Regions from separate parts of the Homo sapiens genome. Here regions 1, 2 and 4 are each linked to region 3. Evidence: promoter capture Hi-C in 16 types of primary human blood cells and fetal thymus (Javierre and others, 2016). All regions are on one chromosome and are shown on one strand. The core of a region is centred on a gene start or on the middle of the fragment in contact, and the rest is flanking DNA. Distances in the headings are between cores, read along the strand shown. Region 1 has its middle 130 kb from the start of NHLRC3. Region 2 has its middle 74 kb from the start of NHLRC3. Region 3 holds the start of LHFPL6 (LHFPL tetraspan subfamily member 6). Region 4 has its middle 250 kb from the start of NHLRC3.

Region 1 (5,616 bases), core at 433-2,932, 430 kb after region 3:
TGGAATGTTAGTACTTTTCCTAACTGATTTTAAGGCATTTATTAAGAATATTAATCCACGTATTTTATTTGTTACAGATATTACTCTTAGCTTTTACTTCCTTATATTGTCTTTTTTCTTCCCCTTTGGTTAACTCTTTTATAGAAAGATAATATGAAAAGGTATATCATGTCACTTTCTTAGGAATAAACCTTCAGTGGCTTCCCAAGTGACTCAGCATGGCTTTGCCTTCCTTTCCAAGTGCCTAGTTAGACCTGCACATGTATCGTGCTCTAGCCTTTTGCAGCTACATATAATTCTCCTAAAGAGGCCTGCCCGGCTCAGACTGCTTCCTCTCACCAAAATGTCCATCTTGCCCCCTACAACTGGAAAACCGTCATTCATCCTTTGAGACTCAGTCCAAATTGAGTTCCCCCATTCTCTTTCCACAGCATCTTCTGCTTCCTCTATCATCGAAGTTATGACACTGTAATAACTATTTATTTACTCTTCTTTTTCACTGATCTAAAAAAGCAGGGAGTTTTCTTATATCTGTACTCAGAATCAGTACAATATGTGACGTATAGTAGACTTCAATAAGCAACTGCAGAATGAATGAATGAATGAACTAGTAGAGGTATCCAGAAGAAAATGTGATTAATTCTGCCCAGGAGAAATAAAGAAAGGTTTTACAAGAGAGAGTGGTATTTGTAGAAGCTATGGAAAGATGAGTAGAAATGTGTTAAAAAAAATAAAAGAGCAAAGAAAAATTATTTCAAACACAGTCATTAGTCAGAATTTACTATGTAATTTTACACTAAATTGGGAGCATGTGGTAGAAGATTACCTTTGGGTAAATATTTCTAATGCAGATATTTGGGGCCATGGTGCCATTCAGTGATGAGAATAATTTTTTAAAGGGCAGACAACAACAAAAACTACCACCCTCCACAAAAAAATGGAAAACATATTCATACGGGTTAGAGGGTCTCAAGGAATTCACAGGAGGTAGGTTGAAAAGATGAAAGCCTTGACAGCTTGACAGAGTGATCTGACCAAGTTTCTTTCTAATCCTCTTAAACAACCACATGTAGCCTTTCAAGGAAGTAGTTTACTATGGACATCAAAGGAAATTTCTCCTTGAAGCAAGATGAGATGAAGAATCAAGCAAGATTGGAAACTGGCCCAAGATAAATATTTTAAGGCAATATGAAAATATTTGGGACATTTGGGGCAGGATAAAAAGGAATTAATCGGTTGTTGCTGAACTCTTGAAAAGTCAGTAAAGATATTAAAGGAAATCTTCTGGAGGAGCTGATTCTAAAGTGATGTGATAAATGACTCTTGAGCATGCTCAGAGAGCAGCGGTGCATTACCAGGGCAGGAGACTGAATAATTTACAACAATGATTACATATATATGTGTGTGAGCATTCATTAGCTGGCAGAAAATAAAACACATTTGTTTGATCTCTGTTTGATTTAGCGTCAGGGGGTTCCATGATCTGGGATGAATTGATCATGTAAATAATGTATAACCACTGACTACCTCCTTTCACCCAGTCGTAAACATTTCTAAGCTTCCAGTTTTCACGATTTCATCCCCATCCTCTCTAACCCAGAGATATCGTCCCTGTCGCAGGCATTGTGGTGCATCACCCAGGTCCTCTCTACAGGACCCATTCTGGAGTTTGTTCACCCAGCTGCTAGGAGTGTTGGCTCCTGATGGCTAGTCCTGCGCCCTTCTCCGGGGGCTGCCCTCTGGGAGACGCCTCACTCAAGATCATGCCCCTTGCCATGTTGATATAAGGGTCAAAGGCCAAGCTTCCTCTTCTGAATTTAGAACAATTCTCATTAGCCATCTCAGCTGCAGAGAACTTCATGTTATTAACTAAGATTTAATTTGAGTATGTATCGCAGGTCAGCTTCTATCTCTACGCAATTTTTATTCCATCATTTTCTTAAGTGTCTTGTTTCTGAGTGTGATTGCCAATAAACTTTCTGTACACAAATTTTCTTCTCAGACAAAGCTCATCTCCAGGGACTCTGTGTCAAAAGGTGGTCAAGTGGTCCTTGGAAACAGAATTTAAAGTGGGATTTTGGAGCTGTGTCATTCTCTGCCCAGATGACAATGAGGATCCTTTTTCTGGCAGTAGGTGGAGTCCTTATGTCCCTTGGCATGCAACATGCTATAGCTGTGCACTGTCCCGCCTGTACATGGGCACAGCCACCCTGGTCTGGAACGGCAATGCTGTTTCAGGACAAGAATCTTTGAGTGAGTTTTTTGAAATGTTGCCTTCCAGCGAGTTCCAAATCAGCGTGGTAGACTGTCAGCCTGTTCATGATGAAGCCACAATGAGCCAGACCACGGTCCTTGTTGTGATCTGTGGATCAGTGAAGTTTGAAGGGGAACAAACAATGGGACTTCAACCAGAACTTCATCCTGACCGCCCAGGCCTCACCCAGGAATACAGTGTGGAAGATCGCAAGTGACTGCTTCCGTTTCCAGGACTGGGCCAGCTAGTGGGGGTGGCAGAGGTCTCTTTGCTTCATTCAGCCCGAGCTCTGTAGAGAAATGCAAATCTCGACTCTCAAGGATGTGAGGAACACAAGTTCATTTCTGTAGTTGCAAAGACACTGCAGACTCCACTGTGCTGAGGTTGAACTCTTTTTTTTGTTGCTCAAGTTCTAGGAGTCCCTTTCCTGAATATATACTTGTTTGTCATAGTTTCCTTTTCAAAGTAGTCAACTTTTCTATTTTTCTAAAAAAAAAAAAAAAAGATTTTCACTAATGAAGAACTGGGAAGGGATACAAGTGGAAGAGAAGGTGCTAGCTGGTATAATATCTCAAGCATTCGAAAGATACTAGGAAAATAGTAATGATAAAGCCTGCAGAACTGGGTGGCAGTTACTAAGGGCTACTGAGGTGCTGGAGAAAAATGATGGGAAAAATGTTACAGAGCTATCTATTGCTCTGTAACAAACCAACTCAATACTTAGTAGCAACCAAAACATTAATTTTGTTCATAAATCAGCCTCAGGCGGGGTGGCCTAAATGCTAGAATCTGGAATCATGCAAAGTCTTGCTCCCTCACATGTCAGGCAGTTGATGCTAGCTCTCAGCTAGAACACCTACCCATGGCCCTCTCACATGACTGCTTCAATTTATCACACCTCGGTAGCTGAATTTTTAGGGGGAAAAGTCCCAAGAGGGGAAAGAGAGTGACGTGGAAGCTGCATTGCCTTTTATGAATTTGCCTCTGAGATCATGCAGCATTTACTACCAGCGTTATATTTGTTAGGAGTAAGCCACAACAGCTGGCCGAGATGTCAAAATCTGCTGATATGTTTAAACCCATCGGAATGATGAATCACTAATTTAAGGTAAGTTGTAAAAGTCAGAGGGTCCCCTTTATCACATTTTAAAAGACTCTCATCTTCTCTATAGCTAGAGGACAGAACAAAGCTGATGATCAGCCTCAGGAGTCCAGAGAATATTAAATGATCAACCTCAGCAAGTCTGCTATGCCAAGGTCAGAGCCTTAATTAGGAAGGAAGAGGAGGGTGGAATTTGGGTTGAACATCTGGGTCAACGCACTCAGCAACTTTGAAACCCCAGGTCATTCTCTGCACTTTGGGCCTGCAGAAGTGGCCCACTCCTTCCTTTAAATGCTAGCACCAACCTTTTTGATGACAGTGCAAGTGCTGAACCTCCTAAGGGAGGGAAAGGACTATACCCTGAAGAAGCACAGACCACAGGAGCTGGGAGAGTAAGATGGGACTGGGTCCAGGGAGTGCTGATCAAGTCATGTACTGGAGTACTCTTCTGGGGCACAGAATGTAACACCATGGCAGAGATCTCACGAGACAATGCCCATATGTCAGTAGGCTGGCTCTGGAAAGCCTAGGGAAAATGATGGTCCACACTGTATAAAGTAGAAACACTAGCCTGTGTTGTGACTCACGCCTGTAATCCCAGCACTTTGGGAGGCAGAGGTGGATGGATCACCTGAGGTCAGGAGTTAAAGACCAGCCTGGCCAACATGGTGAAACCCCGTCTCTACTAAAAGCACAAAAATTAGCCAGGCATAGTGGTGCATGCCTGTAATCCCAGCAACTTAGGAGGCTGAGGCGGGAGAATTGCTTGAACCTGGGACGCGGAGGTTGCAGTGAGCCGAGATCACGCCACTGCACTCCAGCCATGGCAACAAGAACGAAACTGTCTCAAAAAAAAAAAAAAAAAAAAAAAAAAAAAAAAAAACAAGTAAAAACACCAGATGGTTGTGGCAAACAGTGGTGTAAGGAATCAAAATACTCAAGGAAGTAGGCATATTAGAAAAAAAATGCTTACATGCTATATAGAAGTTAAAAGCCCACAAGTTGACTTTATATTCAATGGCAGGACCCAGAAGAAACCAGTCTTGCCGAGAAGCTCAGTGGTGTCTGTGTTCTCTAGGCCAGGGTGATGATAGGTGATGCTGTCACAGAACTCTGTCCCTGATAGCGGCAAGGACAATAGAATATTGAAATAATTGAGGCAAGTTGGAGGTGCTGAATAGCCAAAAGCAAGTGAATAAAATGATCATTAGAAGTGCCAAGGTCAAGTGGCAACTAGGGGAGCCTTCCCTACAGAGCGCTGGTTGATAATACATGTAATCCCTCGGGACAAGGTAGACAGACAACCAGCAAGTGTACTGTTCATTCTGTATAACCAACAGAAATCAATGAGAAAGATTAGGAAGCTGAGGCAGATATCTCAATAAAATGCTATGATCCTTGTTCAGTTTCTGGACCTGAGCCAGAGCCAGAGAGTATAAGTATAGCAACCCTGACCCCTAGATTATTTACTACAATAACTGCCTCTCTTTCAACTTGTATCTATGGCTACATATGTAGGTCCCCTAAGGACAGCTGACAGAAAAGGAAAGAGGCTTAAGAAGGGGTTGGCTTGGTATCTGGGTGCAAGGCCAAAATAAACCGCTGCTCTCATATAGCCCCGTTCCCAGATGGCATCGAAAGACACAGGTGAAGGGAAATCATTCCAGTTATCAGAGATATGGGCAGTGTTCCTGGTCACCTACTTTGTCAGGAAAGAGAAGTGCTCTGCTATAAAAATATCTGGACTATGACTGTGTATGAATGGCTGCGGTGAATGGCTTGGTGAATAGCAAAGGCTTGTTGGTCGGGAGTCTAGAAGGAGAAGCACAGGTAGAATGAGGGCTTGGAAGAGGCATGTAGGCGTACCTGTGGGAGTGGTTGCAAGGTGTAAAGACCTTGTCTTGCATTCTAACACCCATCTGGGATCATTCCCCATGGAAAAGACACCAAACAACCAAGTAAACCGAATAACTCAGTTGGTGTCCGCTGGTTTCTGTCATCAGCCGTCCTGTTCTGGCACAATGAGTGCATGTGTTGAGTACCCATGATGTCAGAGAAGAAGGCTGCCAAAAGCATAGACTCCTACACATAAGGTTGATCTAAATTTCTGTCACTCTGAACACCCAAACTGCCAGCAACATAGATCAACCCTGACCCCGATACAGAAATATCCCTAGAAGGAATAAATCAGTCATTTGGCAAATTGACTACTTTTGACCTCTTCCACCCTGGAAGGGGCATGGATTTATTTTGGTTGGAA
Region 2 (5,688 bases), core at 2,425-4,924, 490 kb after region 3:
GCCACAAAAAGGAATAAAATATCTAGGAATACAGTTAACAAGGGAAATGAAGGATCTCTTCAAGGAGAACTACAAACCACTGCTCAAGGAAATCAGAGAGGACACAAGCAGATGGGAAAACATTCCATGCTCATGGATAGGAAGAATCAATATTATGAAAATGGCCATATTGCCCAAAGCAATTCATAAATTCAATGCTATTCCCATTAAACTATCATTGACATTCTTCACAGAATTAAAAAAAAAAAACTAAAATTCATATGGAACCAAAAAAGAGCTCATATAGCCAGGACAAACCTCAGCAAAAAGAACAAACCTGGAGGCATCACACCACCCAATGTCAAACTATATTACAAGGCTATAGTAACCAAAACAGCATGGTACTGGTACAAAAACAGATACATAGACCCATGGAACAAAATAGAGAACCCAGAAATAAGGCCACATGCCTACAACTATCTGATCTTTGACAAACTTGACAAAAACAAGCAATGGGGAAAGGATCCCCTATTCATTAAATGGTGTTGGGAAAACTGGCTAGCCATATACAGAAAATTGAAACTGGATTCCTTCCTTACACTTTATGCAAAAATTAACTCAAGATGGATTAAAGACTTAAATGTAAAACCCAAAACTATAAAAACTCTAGGAGAAAATCTAGGCAATACCATTCAGGACATGGGCATGGGCAAAGATTTTATGATGAAATCACCAGAAGCAATTGCAACAAAAGCAAAAATTGACAAATGGGATCTAGTTAAACTAAAGAGCTTCTGCACAGCAAAAAAAGCTATCATCACGGTGAATAGACAACCTACAGAATGGGAGAATATGTTTATAATCTATCCATCTGACAAAAGTCTAATATCCAGAGTCTACAAGGAACTTAAACAAATTTACTGGATGAAAACAATCCCATTAAAAAGTGGGCAAAATATATGAACAGATACTTCTCAAAAGAAGACATTCATGTGGCCAAGAAACAAATGATAAAAAGCTCAACATCACTGACAATTAGAGAAATGCAAATCAAAATGAAAATGAGATACCATCTCAAGCCAATCAGAATGGTGATTTTTAAAAAGTCAAGAAACAACAGATGCTGGTGAGATCATGGAGAAATAGGAAGGCTTTTACACTGTTGGTGGGAATGTAAATTAGTTCAACCATTGTGGAAGACAGTGTGGTGATTCCTCAAAAATTTAGAACCAGAAATACCATTTGACCCAGCAATCCCATTACTGGGTATATACCCAAAGGAACATAAATCATTCTATTATAAAGATACATGCATGAGTATGTTCATTGCAGCACTATTCACAATAGCAAAGACATAGAATCAACCCAAATGCCCATCAATTATAGACTGGATAAAGAAAATGTGGTACATATATGCCATGGACTATTATGCAGCCAAAAAAGGAATGAGATCATGTCCTTTGCAGGGACGTGGATGAAGCTGGAAGCCATTATCCTCAGCAAACTAATGCAGGAACAGAAAACCAGACAACACATGTTCTCACTTATAAGTGGGAGTTGAACAACAAGAACACGTGGGCACAGGGAGGGGAACAACACACACTGGGGCCTATTGGGGGAGGGGAGGGGAGGGGAGAGCATTAGAAAAGAGCTAATGGATGCTGGGCTTAATACCTAAGCTGATAGGTCCAGCAAACCACCATGGTATATGTTTACCCATGTAACCAACCTGCACATCCTGCATTTGTACCACAGAACTTAAAAAAATAAAATAAAACAGTAAAAAAGATGATGTAAAAGGTATACATTTAAATGCCCATATCTGCAAAATCCCAGAAATTAGCTACTTTGCAAGGTTTCCCAATTTATAAAGTAAGAAATTTTGACTATGATCTCTAAGGTACTTTCCAGCTCTGTTTTGGTAATATGTTTAATATCAATTCCATTCCAACTGTTTTCTTTCTCGACATACATTAGAATAAAAACAGCAGAATACATGACTCTTTCCTTTATATACTTGTTCAATACATCTTTATTAAGAACATACCATATCCCATGCATTTTTTGAAACACTAAAAATATATTAATGTTCAAAGCTGATGAAGTATCCCACCCTCATGGAGCTTATATTTTAGTGGGAGAAAATACATAAACAAACAAATAAATAAAATATGTAATATATAAGATAAATTCTATCAAGAAAAGGAAAGCAGGAAAGGGATGGAGATTCTATGGGGTAGAAACAATTTTTAATAGGCTCGTTAAAGAAGTTCTCCTTGAGAAAGTAACATTTGAACCATGCGTATAGTTATAGGTATTGTGGGATGATCTGGAAATCCTCAGCTACTTGAAGACTGACATAAGTCAGTAAACATAAAAGTGAGATTTTAGCGACTGTTCACAAGAAAGATCACGGCGGTGAGCCTGTGAGCAGGGGCTGATTTAATGAGAAGCTAAAGAAGCTTCAGTTTCAAAGACCCTCATTTGCATGGGCCCTTTTGAGGACCCCAGGAGAAGCTAGCAATACATTTGCCTGGTATTTTGTGATCTTTTACTTGAAAAGAGCACCCCAAAGTGTATAAAGCTCAGTCCCACAGAATTTGGATCCTCTCCAGCTGTAAATGTCACACAGGGAGAGAGGTGATGGTGTGGCTCATGCCAGGAGCACACAGAATTCAAGGGACTCCCATTGAACCTGCTGATAAATAATTATCCAGCTAGTGGTGGATTGCATTATTGTTCTCTACTCTTTCCTTCTCCCTTTATCTACCACCTTAGTCATAAGACTTTGCAGTTTGCCCTACAAGAGGCAGAGTATATTTCCTTGCCTAGCTGATACTGGATTTAGCCGGGAAGCTTGCTTTGGCCAATTGAATGTTCTGAATGGGATGAAAGCAGTCCATTTAAAACACATCTATAGGCTTGGGGTTGTCCTTTTGTGCTCTTTCCTTTTGTCATGAGAAGAATGTGTCCAGGGTAACCTTCTAGTCTCAGAATGAGTAGCACGTGGAATGTACCTGAACTCAGCCTAAGCCTGAAGCCACGGCCAGCCAAATCCAATCTAGATAAGTTGGACCTCAGCCAACCTGCAAACAAGAGTGAGAAATAAATGCTTATTTTTTAAATACCAACTGGAATTTTGTAGCAAGACTATGTTAACTATGTAGCATAATTGATGGAGTAAGTAATACAGTTTTGTCAGCTTAGGCTAAGTTATGCTGCAGTAACAAGAGATCCCCGTATTCCTCACTCATGTAATAAGCCATTGTGGGTCAGCTGAAACTCTGCCCCTTATTTTCACACAGGGGCCCTATTTGATGGGAAAGCCCCTATCTGGATTTACTGGTCTCCAAGCAGAGGACAAAGAGAGATAGGGAACTATTCACTAGCTCTTAAAATTTCTGCTCAGAAATAACTTACATGACTTCACTCAAATTTTATTGTTCTAAATAAGTTACACAGCTCCACCTGAACAGGGCAGGAATGTGTAATCCTTCTGCAGGAAGCAACACAACAGAGAAAGGGCCCCCAGGAAAACTTTCACTTTGGGAAGAGGCAGTGAATAATTTGAAAAATAATAAAATCTACCATAACAATATACCTTGGACATATGAGTACATATTATGTAGTGAATTGTCTCCATCCCCTGCGCCTATCTTTTAGTTTTTGTCCTGATTGGCTTGAATTATGCTTTAACTCGAATCTTCAAGCCAAAGGGTGTATGTGTGCATTCATGCGAATCTGCACATTATCACACACTCCCCTGGTGGGATGTGTCCACTACTCTTTACAGGACAGCCAAGCAATGATATACAGCTTATAATTTTTCCCCGATATTAATAATATCAACACTGCTCTGCTCTCTAAGCATCAGATTTCCCATGGAAAAGAAATCAGAAATCATTAATTTTCCACATCAAAATGACTGTATAGTGGTGCCATGATGCTATAGAGACCTCATTTTCACCTGTTGCTTTGGAACAGTGAGTCCTAAATGCTTGGATGTCAAAATTGATCCTGCTGGACCTAAATTCCACCCAACCTCCACCTCATGCCACAAAGGCTGAATTTTATGTTTCACCCTAGTATGGAAGAAAATTCTATAATTTCTTTCTTCTGTAATTAAAATCTAAAGAACCAGTTAGTCAAAGCAGTGCATCATTTTTCTTTGGCTTTCTTTTTTTATTTTTATTTTGAGAATGTGAATTTTATTGTTGTGTGTTTCTTTTTGGTATTAGCACTTTATGCAGCAGCCAAGATGGTCACTTTCTGTGAAGGAGATAATGGAGGATAATGCAACCATCCAGCTGCTTGAGCAAGAGACCTGGGCATCTCCAAGAACAATCGATTCTACTTTCCCTATTTTCTTGCTGCTGCCATTGCCTTAGTTCAGGCCCTGGAAATCATTTGCTATATTTAGCCTCCTAGGAGCCTTTCCACTTCTAATCTCTTTCCTCTCTAACCCCCTAAAATAACCAGTGATACTAGAGCTCCTCTCGAGTTTTCTTTTGGTAACTGACCCAAGAAAGCTTTGGATATGTTGTAATCAGACAGAGGAAAGAGATTTGATACAAAAACAAATCATGACCCCAAAATATGAAACTATATCTGATAATTTCACATTTTTGATACCTTGTATCCTTTTGAGGCAGAAAAAGAAAAAAAGTCAAAAGGTATATAGAATCTGTATTGGACTTTTTTAAATCATTGAAACTTAGGGGAGAAAAAGTCATCCACATTTTGGATGGGAGTAGAATGACAGGAGAACTCAAAGTACTTGAGATCTTGATTAAGCGCTTCTGAAAAATAATATGGTCTCATGAATCCCTGGCTCACTTAAATGCATTAAGACTAGCCTGCCCTGAGCAGGAGTGGAGAGGGAATTCTCCAGCCTGACAGGCTGTGAACTTGAGCCGCAGCATCAGCTTTTCCTAGGTTTTCAGCCTGCTGGTCCACCCTGCAGATTTTGGACTTGCCAGCCTCCAGTATAGTGTGAACCAATTCCTTCAAATAAATCTCTTTCTCTCTCTCTACACACACACCCTATTGGTTCTATTTCTCTGAAGAGCCCTGACTAATACAAGGGCTATACCATTTGGCATTCCCAACAATCATGTATGAGAGTGCCTGCTTTCCCAAAGCCCTGTTGATAGCATATCAGTAAGTGTTGAAATTTTTGCCAAACTGATAGGTAATAAATGGTATCTTAACATACCTTTAATCTGCATTTCTCATGAGTGAAATAGAGCATCATTTCATATGTTTAAATATCATTTGTATATCTCTTACACTGAAAAGGCTTTTGAAAAGTTTTGGTAATGAAAAAATACATTTCTTCCTATGGACCACTCTAAATCCCCCTTAGAAAGATAGACTGGGTTCCGATGATAAATATAATCTATTATTTCTGATAAGAATACCCCTTCCTTTATGGAATGCAGGGTGTACATACTCCTTATTTTTTATACATACATTTTATTTTTATTAAGCAAAATTTGATTAGCAACATAATGTATACAGGGAAATTCTCTTTGATAAAATGTGTCCTGATGAGAATCTAGATTTTACAATGGAATTGTAAAAAACCTAGGGGAGAAGAGATGCCTTGTTAGGGCACGTGGACTCCTGACCTGACATTTTTTATTAACCAAGATAGTCGTCACTTTCTTCCTCTCCCTCTTCTTACTTACTCCCTATCCCCCAGGTTCT
Region 3 (5,097 bases), core at 1,872-4,371:
GAAAATTCAACTCATAGTGATTTAAACCATATTAAAAATCTATAATTTACTTTTTAAATAATTCAAATGGAGGTGAGAAGCTCTACAATGTTAGATCACTGGGAGTATGTCTCTGTGACCCCCCACCTGGTTACAAGAAGGCTGCTAGAGCTCTAAACACCTTCAAGAATGTGCCCGAAGACAGTCATGATGGTGAGAGAACTATTCTCTCACGTCTCCTTATTTTATCAGAGAATACAATCTTCCCCAGAGGCCTCCTTAGCAAACTCATTGGCTACAGCAGGATCAAGTGGCCATTACTTGCTTTAAGGGATGCTAGAAGAGTATCTGGTGAGAAGGGAGAGGGGATTGTGAATTAATACTGGGTAGCCAACCAAGAGTGTTGTCATAAACACTTTATAGCTTTCCATATACTGTCGCATTCATGATCTCATCTTGTGACTCAATGAGACTACTATCCAAACATACTGGAAACCCAAACCTGGAATAGGTGTTATAAGTGGCATCTGCTATGTGGGAACTTCTGGCTGTGAAGTAATTTAATGGTCCTTTAAAGGTACAAATTTAATGCAAAGGGGCTTAAATAAATTATAATGCATTTTGCTTACAAAGTGTGCATGGAAGAACATAAGGAGTAATTCAGAAGATATTATAGTTTAGTAAGATAATTAGAAAGAGAAATCAAGATATGTGGATTATAGCCTCAGCTTTGGGTAAGACACTGGAAGAATTTCGAGCCTCTGTTTTGTCAGCTGTAAAATTACATACTTGAACAAGATTAGATGATCTCTAAATTCCTTCTCAAAGATAAGAGGACCCATATAACCATGATGCTGGAAGTTGTGAGCTTAAAAAAAATTAAAATAACCTATTTCAATCTCTTTTTAACAATGAGATAACTTAGGGCTTGGGAAGATCACCATTTGTCTGAATTCACTTATTTAAGTTAGAAATTTGAGTCCCAGTATTATACTTTCACAAATAATTGATATTGCATCCTGAAAGATTTTTAAAAATTTGGCCTCTTCTGTCATTTTTTTTTTCATTTTAGGCAGAATCTCTGTGATAGCATTTACTCTGCTTAAGAGAGTGCAAATAATGAGATTTTTTTAAAAGTCATTTTTTAGCTGTAAATTTTTGGGCAAATTACTTCTTATCCTTGCGGTAAAATAATAATTATTCCTTCTTCATAATTTTTCTTTTCTTTTTTGAGGACTGGATAAGTAATCTATTAAGGGACCTTAATGTACTAACACACAGCAAGGAGTCAATCTGTAGTAACCATGATTATCATTAATATGTCTCCAGCCAGCACTTGCGCTTAAGCTTTCTCACACTTAAGAAAGTGTTTGAGAGCAATTTCCCCTGCAGGTTGTACGGAGGTGACTCCGATTCTCACTATTATTCTTTTGTCTTTTATGATCATATCTTCCACCATCATATTATATAGGTATGAAGGCTCTGTGTAATAACTAAGGGTGTGGTACCTAACTGGAAGTCAGACCAATCATTCTTATGCTGTCACTGAAACCAGTAACCGGTGATTTGTAAGAGAAGAGTTAAAACAACTTAAACTCAACAACAACACCAAAAACAAAAACACTTAAATTGGGGATTCTGAATATGGGATTCATGGATGGGCTTTAAGGGAATGGGAAACCACCTGATATTTCATTCAAATGATTGACATTTTGGCCCAGGTAATTTTGGGGACTGTCCTGTGCACTGTATTTAGCAGAATCTCGGGTCTTTACCAACTAGATGCCAGTAATACTCCCCATTCATGGGTTATGATAATCAAAATTATCTTCAGACCTTGCCAAATATCCCTTTCCTTCTTCAGAATCGCTGTGGTAAAGCTTTATATGTCCGCGCATTTTTTTTTCTGGAAGGCTTATCAGTTTCATCGTATTTTTTAAAAGACCTGTGACCTCAAAAGGCTTGGAATCAATCACTTAAGGTCTTTCAAAATAATAATAAAAGAACACATATCTCCAGCTGTCGTTGTGGGAAAAATGTACACCATCACGGCTAATTAAAATGGTGCAGTCTGAAAATCTGCTATGAAATATATACCTACCAATTTATTACTTTCAACTCCTCTAAAAAGACACCTCACAAAAACTATATCTGGGAAACTGTCTACTTCAAAAACTGCTGTTCCCAGATGGCATACTTCTTAAAATACTGTGTTCAGCAGAGACTCCCACAGTCATCTACTGAATCTAGCTCTAAACTTCTAAAGGGGTTAGTGCTAATGACAAGTGGAAAAAGTCCTCAAGTCCAGAGGGGAACTAAAAATCAGTTGTTTCTCAGAAAAGAAATCAAACGATGGAATAAATTGCAAAATTGATCAGGAGGCAGGATGGAGGAGAAGGGAGGGAGGAAGTGAAGGGAAAGGGAGGGAGGGAGGGAGAGAGAGACAGAGAAACAGCAAGAGAGAGAGAGAGAGACCTTTGAAAGAGTGTATCTCTTGGGAGAGGCTCGCTAGAGGTCCGCCCCTGCCTTCTCCCTGGCTCGTCTGGAAAGGCAGCTGCCCCCATGCCATACATGAGCCTTGGGCTGTCTGCTGTGCTTTAATTCCCACGTCCACAACCGCCTCATTCACCGCCTTCCAAAGTGACCACTTCTCAAAAGCCTCCTCAAATCTCAAAGGGGCCACTTTACCCACTCTTTAAGGCCCTCTTTCCCGTCTACGGCTTCTTTTAACGGCGGCAGGAAAACAGGAGCATAAACCCGAACAGTAAACCCAGAAAAGCCCCAACAGGCAAAGTGTGTCATCTTCCGTGGCTCCTCGGGGTCACCCAGGAAGACAAGCAACTTTCTCCCATACTTCTCGGTCTGTCTGCCTTCCCCACTCAGCTTTGAATGAGACGCAGGGAGAGGGGGCGCGAGGGGGCTCGGGGCTAGGGGAGGAGCCGCGAAAGCTGCCCCCGGGGGTGGGCCTGGACCCGCGCGGACAGCGGGGCACCCCCCCACTCCCTTCCCGGCGCTCCAGGAACGTCCCCGGTGCGTCCTGGGTCTGTCTGCGCGGAGTTCCCCGGGGCGCGAGGGGAGGGGACTGGAGAAAGAGGAGGGCCGGGCAGCGGAGGGGAGGAGGCGGTGCGTGCCTCGCCTGCCAAAGGGAGATCCGCTCCTCTGCGTGCGATCCCCGGCGCCCGCGCGCGCCCACAGCGCTCCGCCAGAGCTGCCGCCGCGGACTCGCCGGGAGTGGGGGTCTCCGCTGGTGCCAGCCCGCTTCTGGAGACCCTCCGCCTCCTGCCAACCCCTGCTCTTCCAGGTCGGGCCCCGGGGTTCTGCGGCTGTTAGGGACAGAGGCAAAGAAGGGCAGGACGGTCCGGTTTCCCGTGGATGTTCCCGCCCGAGAAAGACAGCAAGTTGTGTGTGCGCCCGGGACGCGGGAGGGAAGGTGGCCGCCGCCCGCCAGCCATGTAAGTAAATCACTCGGCTGCCCCGTGGGCGTGGGCTCCGCTGCTTTCTCCCGGGCTCCCTCTCTGCCCCGGAGCCGGAGTTGGGCTGCTCCCGGGCTCCGGACTTCCTGAGCTCGGCGGATCCGTCGGCTCTGCCTGCCAGCCGCGTCCGCTCTTGGCGTCTGCCTCCGGGGGGTGCTGCCTTCCCATCCTTATCCCCTCCCTTCGTCCAGAGCCGGCTGGAAAATGCCTCTTGCCCCCTTTTAGAATGGAGGGATCATTGTGTGTCTCCATGGGTGGAGTGGCTCGGTGAGGCAATGGCAGGGGGCTAAATATGGGCTTGTCTTGGCGAGGGCGCCTCACCGCAGTTGGAGATGGGGGCCCCCTGCCCGCAGGCCACCCCCTGCTGGTCTTCCCCAGCCTCGTGGCCCAGATAGATCAACTTCAGCCCTGACTGCAGTTGACAAGATTAGAAAAAAAAGTAGTAGCCGACCTCCCGTTTGAGTGACATCCAGAACTGAAAATGGGCGGTGGTTAGAGAAAAAAACGGGTAGGGGCGAGGTGAAGAAAGGGGGAAATTTGCTATGGACCCTGAAAGCTGGAGTTAGGGGTCCTGGGGGTGGAATTCTAGGGTGGATGGGCTCTGTGCTTCTGTATTCATTTCTTTATGGAAAGTGTGAGAAATGGTTAAGGAACTCTTTTTGAAAGGCTGGGGTGGAAGTAGATGCCCCTGGAACCATTTGGATGACTGGGGTTTGATGTAGCATACTGGGAAGTATGGATTGCTGTTCAAATTAGACAATCATTCAGTGGGAGAAATGATTGCAATAGAACTGTTGGAATCAATGAATCAAAACTGCAGACTCAAAATAAGTCATACACAGGCATTCTTTTACACTAGAAGATGTTAAGACTAAAGAAATTCTGAAATGCTGCTGAATGAGTACAAAGAGTGTCTGGTAATAGTTCTGTACTGTGGGTGCCTCCGCAGACCATAATGCTTGTTAAATTTATGGTACTCTGCAATTGTGAAAAATTATCCTAATTAGTTTGTTTGGCTCATGCAGAGAGTTAATGCACCCTTAAAGGGACATAGAAAAGTTGCAACAAACTATGAGCATGAACTTGCAAGCCAAAAAATGGAAATCATGGCATGGTTCATTTTATTTTAATTGTTTATTGCCCAGTGAAAGTGCTACATTACTTTTAATGTGAGTATATAATATATAGAATGAATTCATTGGCCTGTCAAATAAAAATCGGGCGTTTCTTTAAGTAAATAGCTGTCAGAGTTAATTTGGAAATATTTACGGAAGATAAAGACATGAAAAAGCTTTGAGCTGGTTTGACAAAAATCGAGTTATGAAGCTCATAGAGAGAATTAGTTCTTCCCACTTTTAAAGTGTTGAGGCAAGTCTCAATGTTTATTAATTGAAAATTGTAGACTAGCTGAAACAGTGTTATCACTTCTTTTAATGCCTTTAATTTTTAATGTTTCCTGTTGTTTTACCAGGGACCATCATCTTTAGTGCAGAGGATGGAAAGTTGATGCCCAGTAAGACTGAAGATCCATTCTGCATTACGGAACTGTGGATTATCTGTGGGTCCCTGGTGATTTCACACCTTCATTCACTCCTGCAGTCCCTGAACACTTACTTGGGGTCCTCATTGCCCTATCTGGTGAAAG
Region 4 (5,196 bases), core at 98-2,597, 310 kb after region 3:
CAGGCTTGTTGGTGAAAAGCAAATCATTTGAAAAGGCTGTGCCAATTCATTAGTTGTTGCATTTTCTATTTTTTTTTTTTGCAACATCAACTCTGAATATTTGATCATTTTTGTAATGAAACACCTTAACATTTTCTTGACTTTCTCATTCTTACTACTTTCATTAGCCCTGGAGTTCTTAAACAAACTATCATACTCCCTCCCAGAAGTTACAGTTTCAACATGCTCCTTGTACTGAATTTTACAGTAAGCACAAGTTCAAAGCACATTTCCAAAGAATATTCTTTTGTTAATTTTTTGAACACAGGGCTTGAGAAAATACCTGAAGTTTGAGATACATGTTAAAAACAAATTTTACATAAGCCTATATTTAGATGGCTGGTTATTTCTCATCCAAAGAGTTCCTTTACAGGAGAAAGATTTAAAATTTACAATTTTTTCATGCAGTTTCCTCTGAGCATTTGGATGGGCATCCAAAGGAGCACTGGGCAATTTCTTTTAAAGACTTTAAAACAAAAATGGCATTGAGAGATCCTCTGTGTTGAACAGTGAAAGTGTACACATGCGATTTTCAGCCTTTACAAAACTCACTTTCATGGAAAGAGAGAGAAATCAAGTACTATAATGAAATCAAGTTTATCATAAAACAAAGGCTACTTCTATTCTTACAGATGACAGTATACTTCTACATTTGCCCCACTGTGTGTTCACTCTTCTGGAGTCATCCATTATTATGTCAAGTATGGCCCACTAGTTATGCAACAATTTCATTGCTATTATCTCAATCCACACAAGAACTTGGGAAAAGATGAAAAGGGATCACGATGAAAAAGTATTTTCAGTCTTCTGATGAAAGGCTACAAACCATTATTTCCCACTTACGTCTTTCTAGCCCCCTGGCTTTAATGGAAACCCAGATAATAATAATAATTATTATTGTTATTGTTATTTTAACTTTTAGGCTCATGGGTACATGTGCAGGTTTATTATACAAGTAAATTATGTGTCATGGGATGTTGGTGTACAGATTATTTTGTCACCCAGGTAATAAGCATAGTAACTGATATGTAGTTTTTTGATCCTCTCTTTCCTCCCAGCCTCCACCCTCAAGTAGGCCCTGGTGTCTATGGTTCCCTTCTTCGTGTTCTTGTGTACTCAGTGTTTAGCTCCCACTTATAAGTGAGGACATGAAATATTTGGTTTTCTGATCCTACATTAGTTTTCTTAGGATAATGGCCTCCAGCTCCATCCATGTTACTGCAAAGGACATGATCTCACTTTTTTGTGGCTGTGTAGTATTCCGTGGTGTATACGTACCACATTTTCTTTATCCAGTCTACCACTGTTGGACATTTAGCTTGATTCCATGTCTTTGCTATTGTGAATAATCATGTGATGAACATACATGTGCATGTGTCTTTTTGGTAGAATGGTTTATATTCTTTCAGGTATATGCCTAGTAATGGGATTTCTGGGTCAAATGGTAATCAAGATTATTTTTCCTCATCTGATGAAAAAGGTGTTTTGCAGGATGAGCCAGGTAGCTTGTGACAGAAGTGTGGAGTCCCCAAATGGGCACCAAGGAAGAGTAAAATGCATTCAATTGATTGCACCCTTAGAGCTTTGAAAATTGCTCCATGGCTGCCTGATCTACCAGTGAAACATCTATTTTAGAATACCGGATAGGTTGCACATAAAAACATCTTCCTTTGTTCTTCAAGTCTATGAGGTCTTCCTCATTTATTCTTTTCCAGAAAGCCAGTTATTCTGCCTTTTAATTTATTGGATCACTCTGCATCATTTCCTTCCATAGCAGGAGAACTTTCAGAGGCGAATCCATGAAAGAACAGATCCCTTTGGTATTGGATTCTGTGGAAATTTTCCTTTTACTGTTAACTTTTTTTTCCCACGAAATGATAAAGAACACTTTGAAATGTTTTTATAAAGGCAAACTCCAAGACATTTTTTTTTCTGTTTCAAACCATTTAAGGTGGAGAAACCTATTATGTATATATATAAGAAACACATAATTTGCACATTAGTGTTATGTTAGTGTTTCTCAATCTTTTTGAGTTTTTGGATGGCATGCTTCAATGATTTGTGAAGTTAGGCCAGAATAGTGGTGGCACAACAAAGAAATTTCTCACTGAATGTCTGTTCTCTTTGACTACTCTTTTTTCCTCCATCCAAGGATCTCTTAACTCATTAAATAAATGGGATTTTTTTTTGAAAAAACAAAACCCCAAACAAACCAACTGGTAAGTAAATTAATATGATTTCATCCAGAGACTCTTAGTAGAACTTTTGCTATAAATAACCATATGGGGCATCTGCATAAATGTGGGGCTAGTCAACCAACTTCTTGCAAGCCGTGTAGAGGATAGGCTTTCAATCTGTCTGGAAGAAAACAGAATTGAGTGTTCTCAACCAGATGCATTGCGTTGGTGACAATTTGTGAAGTGTAAAGTTTTCTGAAAACACAATGTCTCACTGTAACCCTAATGGGTCTGTTGCTCAAAGTACACAGCAAGTTAATATGCCAAGACACCAGGTTGCAGCAGAGAAAGAGGTTTAATTGTAGGGCTGCCCAACGAGGAGACAGGAGGAAACCTCAAATAAACCTGTCTCCCCGAGGAGTCTGGAGGTAGGGTTTTTAAGGGTTTTGGAGTGGGCTGAAGGGTGAAGACCATTGAGTGGTAGAAGAGCGTAGGGTGAAGTGATGGGACAGGGAGACAAGAAGCTGTATTCTCATGCTGATTCTATTCCTCTGTGGGGGTCTTCCAACTGGTTTGTGTCAACTGTTTTGCTGTAATTTGGGATCTGAAAATCATCTTAAGCAATTCTTAAGCAAAAGCCTTATGATTCTAAAGTCCGAAATCTCATCTACAGGAAAAATGGGGATGCAAATGGTGAATAGCTAGTGCAATGTGACTTTCAGTTACAAGGAAGTGGATCAAAGTGCAGCCTGATTAATGCTAAATTATAACTATATTTCTGTCCAGAATGCTTGTTAACCCTGTGAGGATTGCTTCATCGCCATTGGCTCATCATTTCAAACTTGGCCATTTGAAAGACTACTGGAATTATTTAAGGTGCATTTCTCACCAATACAATTGGCAATTATTCAGAGATAAATATCTGATAAAAAAGAATCAATTATTTTGTGAGGGCAATACTTATTACATTATGCAACCAAATGATCTGTTTCTATACCAGCATGTTGCTGACTTTTAGATGATATATTATGGGATAGCTTTGTAATTGGAGTTGATGGTGAATTTCTCCAAAGTCATGTCTTGGTGGAAGAAAATAAATTGTTTATAACTGTCCAGTAAAAGGAACCCAAATAACAGAGCTATTTTACAACACGGCTCAAAATTCAAGAAACATCTTCTTTGTTTTTTAAACCTTTATTTTAGGTTTAGGGATACATGTGCAGGTTTGTTATTTAGGTAAACTCATGTCATGGGGGTTTGTTCTACAGATTATTTCTCCACCCAGGTACTAAGCCTAGTACTCAACAGTTATTTTTTTTTGGATCATCTTCTTTCTCCTACCCTCTACCTTCAAGTAGGCCCCAGTGACTGTTGCTCTCCTCTTTGTGTCCATGAGTTGTAATCATTTAGCTTCCACTCATAAACGAGAACATGCAGTATTTGATTTTCTGTTCCTGCATTAGTTTGCTAAGGATAATGGCCTCCAGCTCCATCCATGCTTCTGCAAAATACATGATATCATTCTTTTTTATGGGTGTATAGTATTTCATGGTGTATATATACCACATTTTCTCTGTCCAGTCTACCATCGATAGATATTTAGGTTGACTCCATCTTTGCTATTATGAATAGTGCTCCAATGAACATACATAGGCATGTGTTTTTATGATAAAACAATTTATATCCCTTTGAGTATGTACCCAGTAATAAGATTGCTGGGTCAAATGGTAGTTTAAGTTTTAGCTCTTTGAGGAAATGCCACATGGCTTTCGACAGTGGTTGAAGTAATTTACACTCCCACTGAGAATGAATGAGTTCCCTTTTCTCTGTAACCTTGCCAGCATCTGTTATTTTTTGACTTTTTAATAGTAGCCATTCTGGCCAGTGTGAGATGATATCTCAATGTGGTTTTGATTTACATTTCTCTATTTATCAGTGATATTGAGCTTTTTTTCATAAGCTTGTTGGATGCATGTATGTCTTCTTTTGAAAAGTCTCGTTCATGTCCTGTGCTCACTTTTTAATGGGGTTGTTTGTTTTTTTCTTGTAAATGTGTTTCAGTATGGATGCTGGACATTAGACTTATGTTAGACGCTGATGTGGTTAGGCTTTGTTTCCCCATCCAAATCTAATCTTGAATTGTAATCCCCATAACTCCCATAATCCCCACATGTCAAGAAAGAGACCTGGTGGAGGTAATTGAATCATGGGGGCAGCTTACCCCTTGCTTTTCTCATGATAGTGAGTTCTCATGAGATCTGATGGTTTTGTAGGGTGCTCTTCCCCCTTCACTCAGCACTTCTCCTTCCTGCTGCCTTGTGAAGAAGATGCCTTGCTTCCTCTTTGGCTTCCACCATGATTGTAAGTTTCCTGAGGCCTCCCCAGCCATGCTGAACTGTGAGTCAATTAAACCTCTTTCCTTTATAAATTACCCATCTTGGGCAGTTCTTTATAACAGATGTAGAGTTTGCAAATATTTTCTCCCATTCTGCAGGTTTTCTGTTTACTCTGTCGATATTTGCTTTTGCTGTGTAGAAGCACTTGAATTTAATTAGATCCCTTTGTGAATTTTTTGCTTTTATTGTGACTGCTTTTGGCATCTACATCTTGAAATCTTTGCCCATTCTTATGTTCAGAATTGTATTGCCTAGGTCATCTTCCAGAGTTTTTGTAGTTTTGGGTTTTACACTTAAGTCTTTAATCCATCTTGAGTTGATTTTTGTATATGGTATAAGAAAGTGGTCCACTTTTATCTTCATCTTCATCTTCTGCATATGGCTAGCCAGTTATCCCAGCATCATTTATGGAATAGGAAATTCTTTCCTCATTGCTTTTGTCAGCTTTGTCAAAAATCAGATGGTTGTAGGTGTGTGGCCTTATTTCTGGGTTCTCTATTCTGGTCCATTGGTCTGGATGTGCGTTTTTATATCAGTACAATGCTGTTTTGATTACTATAGCCCCATAGTACAGTTTGAAATCA

The links. Contacts are between HindIII fragments. The CHiCAGO score rates a contact against its expected background, and 5 or more counts as called.
Region 1: a contact is called between a fragment that was not itself captured here and the fragment with the promoter of LHFPL6 in region 3, in 2 of 17 cell types (M0 macrophages and erythroblasts). The highest score is 6.1, in M0 macrophages.
Region 2: a fragment that was not itself captured here is called in contact with the fragment with the promoter of LHFPL6 in region 3 in 1 of 17 cell types (activated CD4 T cells); the score reaches 5.2 in activated CD4 T cells.
Region 4: a fragment that was not itself captured here is called in contact with the fragment with the promoter of LHFPL6 in region 3 in 1 of 17 cell types (M2 macrophages); the score reaches 6.3 in M2 macrophages.

What each region holds. Positions count from the first base shown.
Region 1 is chr13:39,166,515-39,172,130 of GRCh38, reverse strand. It overlaps the pseudogene NXT1P1. Among named protein-coding and RNA genes, the nearest start is that of NHLRC3, 130 kb to the right of the region's middle. The HindIII fragment of the contact is 244 bases long and covers 1,561-1,804 here.
Region 2 is chr13:39,110,068-39,115,755 of GRCh38, reverse strand. No RefSeq gene overlaps it. Among named protein-coding and RNA genes, the nearest start is that of NHLRC3, 74 kb to the right of the region's middle. The HindIII fragment of the contact is 1,673 bases long and covers 2,838-4,510 here.
Region 3 is chr13:39,601,217-39,606,313 of GRCh38, reverse strand. It overlaps LHFPL6 (LHFPL tetraspan subfamily member 6), which reads left to right and starts at 3,121. Exons shown (of 4, transcript NM_005780.3): 1 at 3,121-3,431; 2 at 4,924-5,097. LOC112268119 (protein SPT2 homolog) reads right to left here and starts at 4,990. Exons shown (of 4, transcript XM_035861111.2): 1 at 4,921-4,990; 2 at 3,774-3,864; 3 at 2,672-3,670. The coding sequence starts at 4,990. RefSeq lists a silencer at 2,927-3,226. The HindIII fragment of the contact is 2,884 bases long and covers 1,862-4,745 here.
Region 4 is chr13:39,288,563-39,293,758 of GRCh38, reverse strand. No RefSeq gene overlaps it. Among named protein-coding and RNA genes, the nearest start is that of NHLRC3, 250 kb to the right of the region's middle. The HindIII fragment of the contact is 5,662 bases long and covers 1-4,178 here.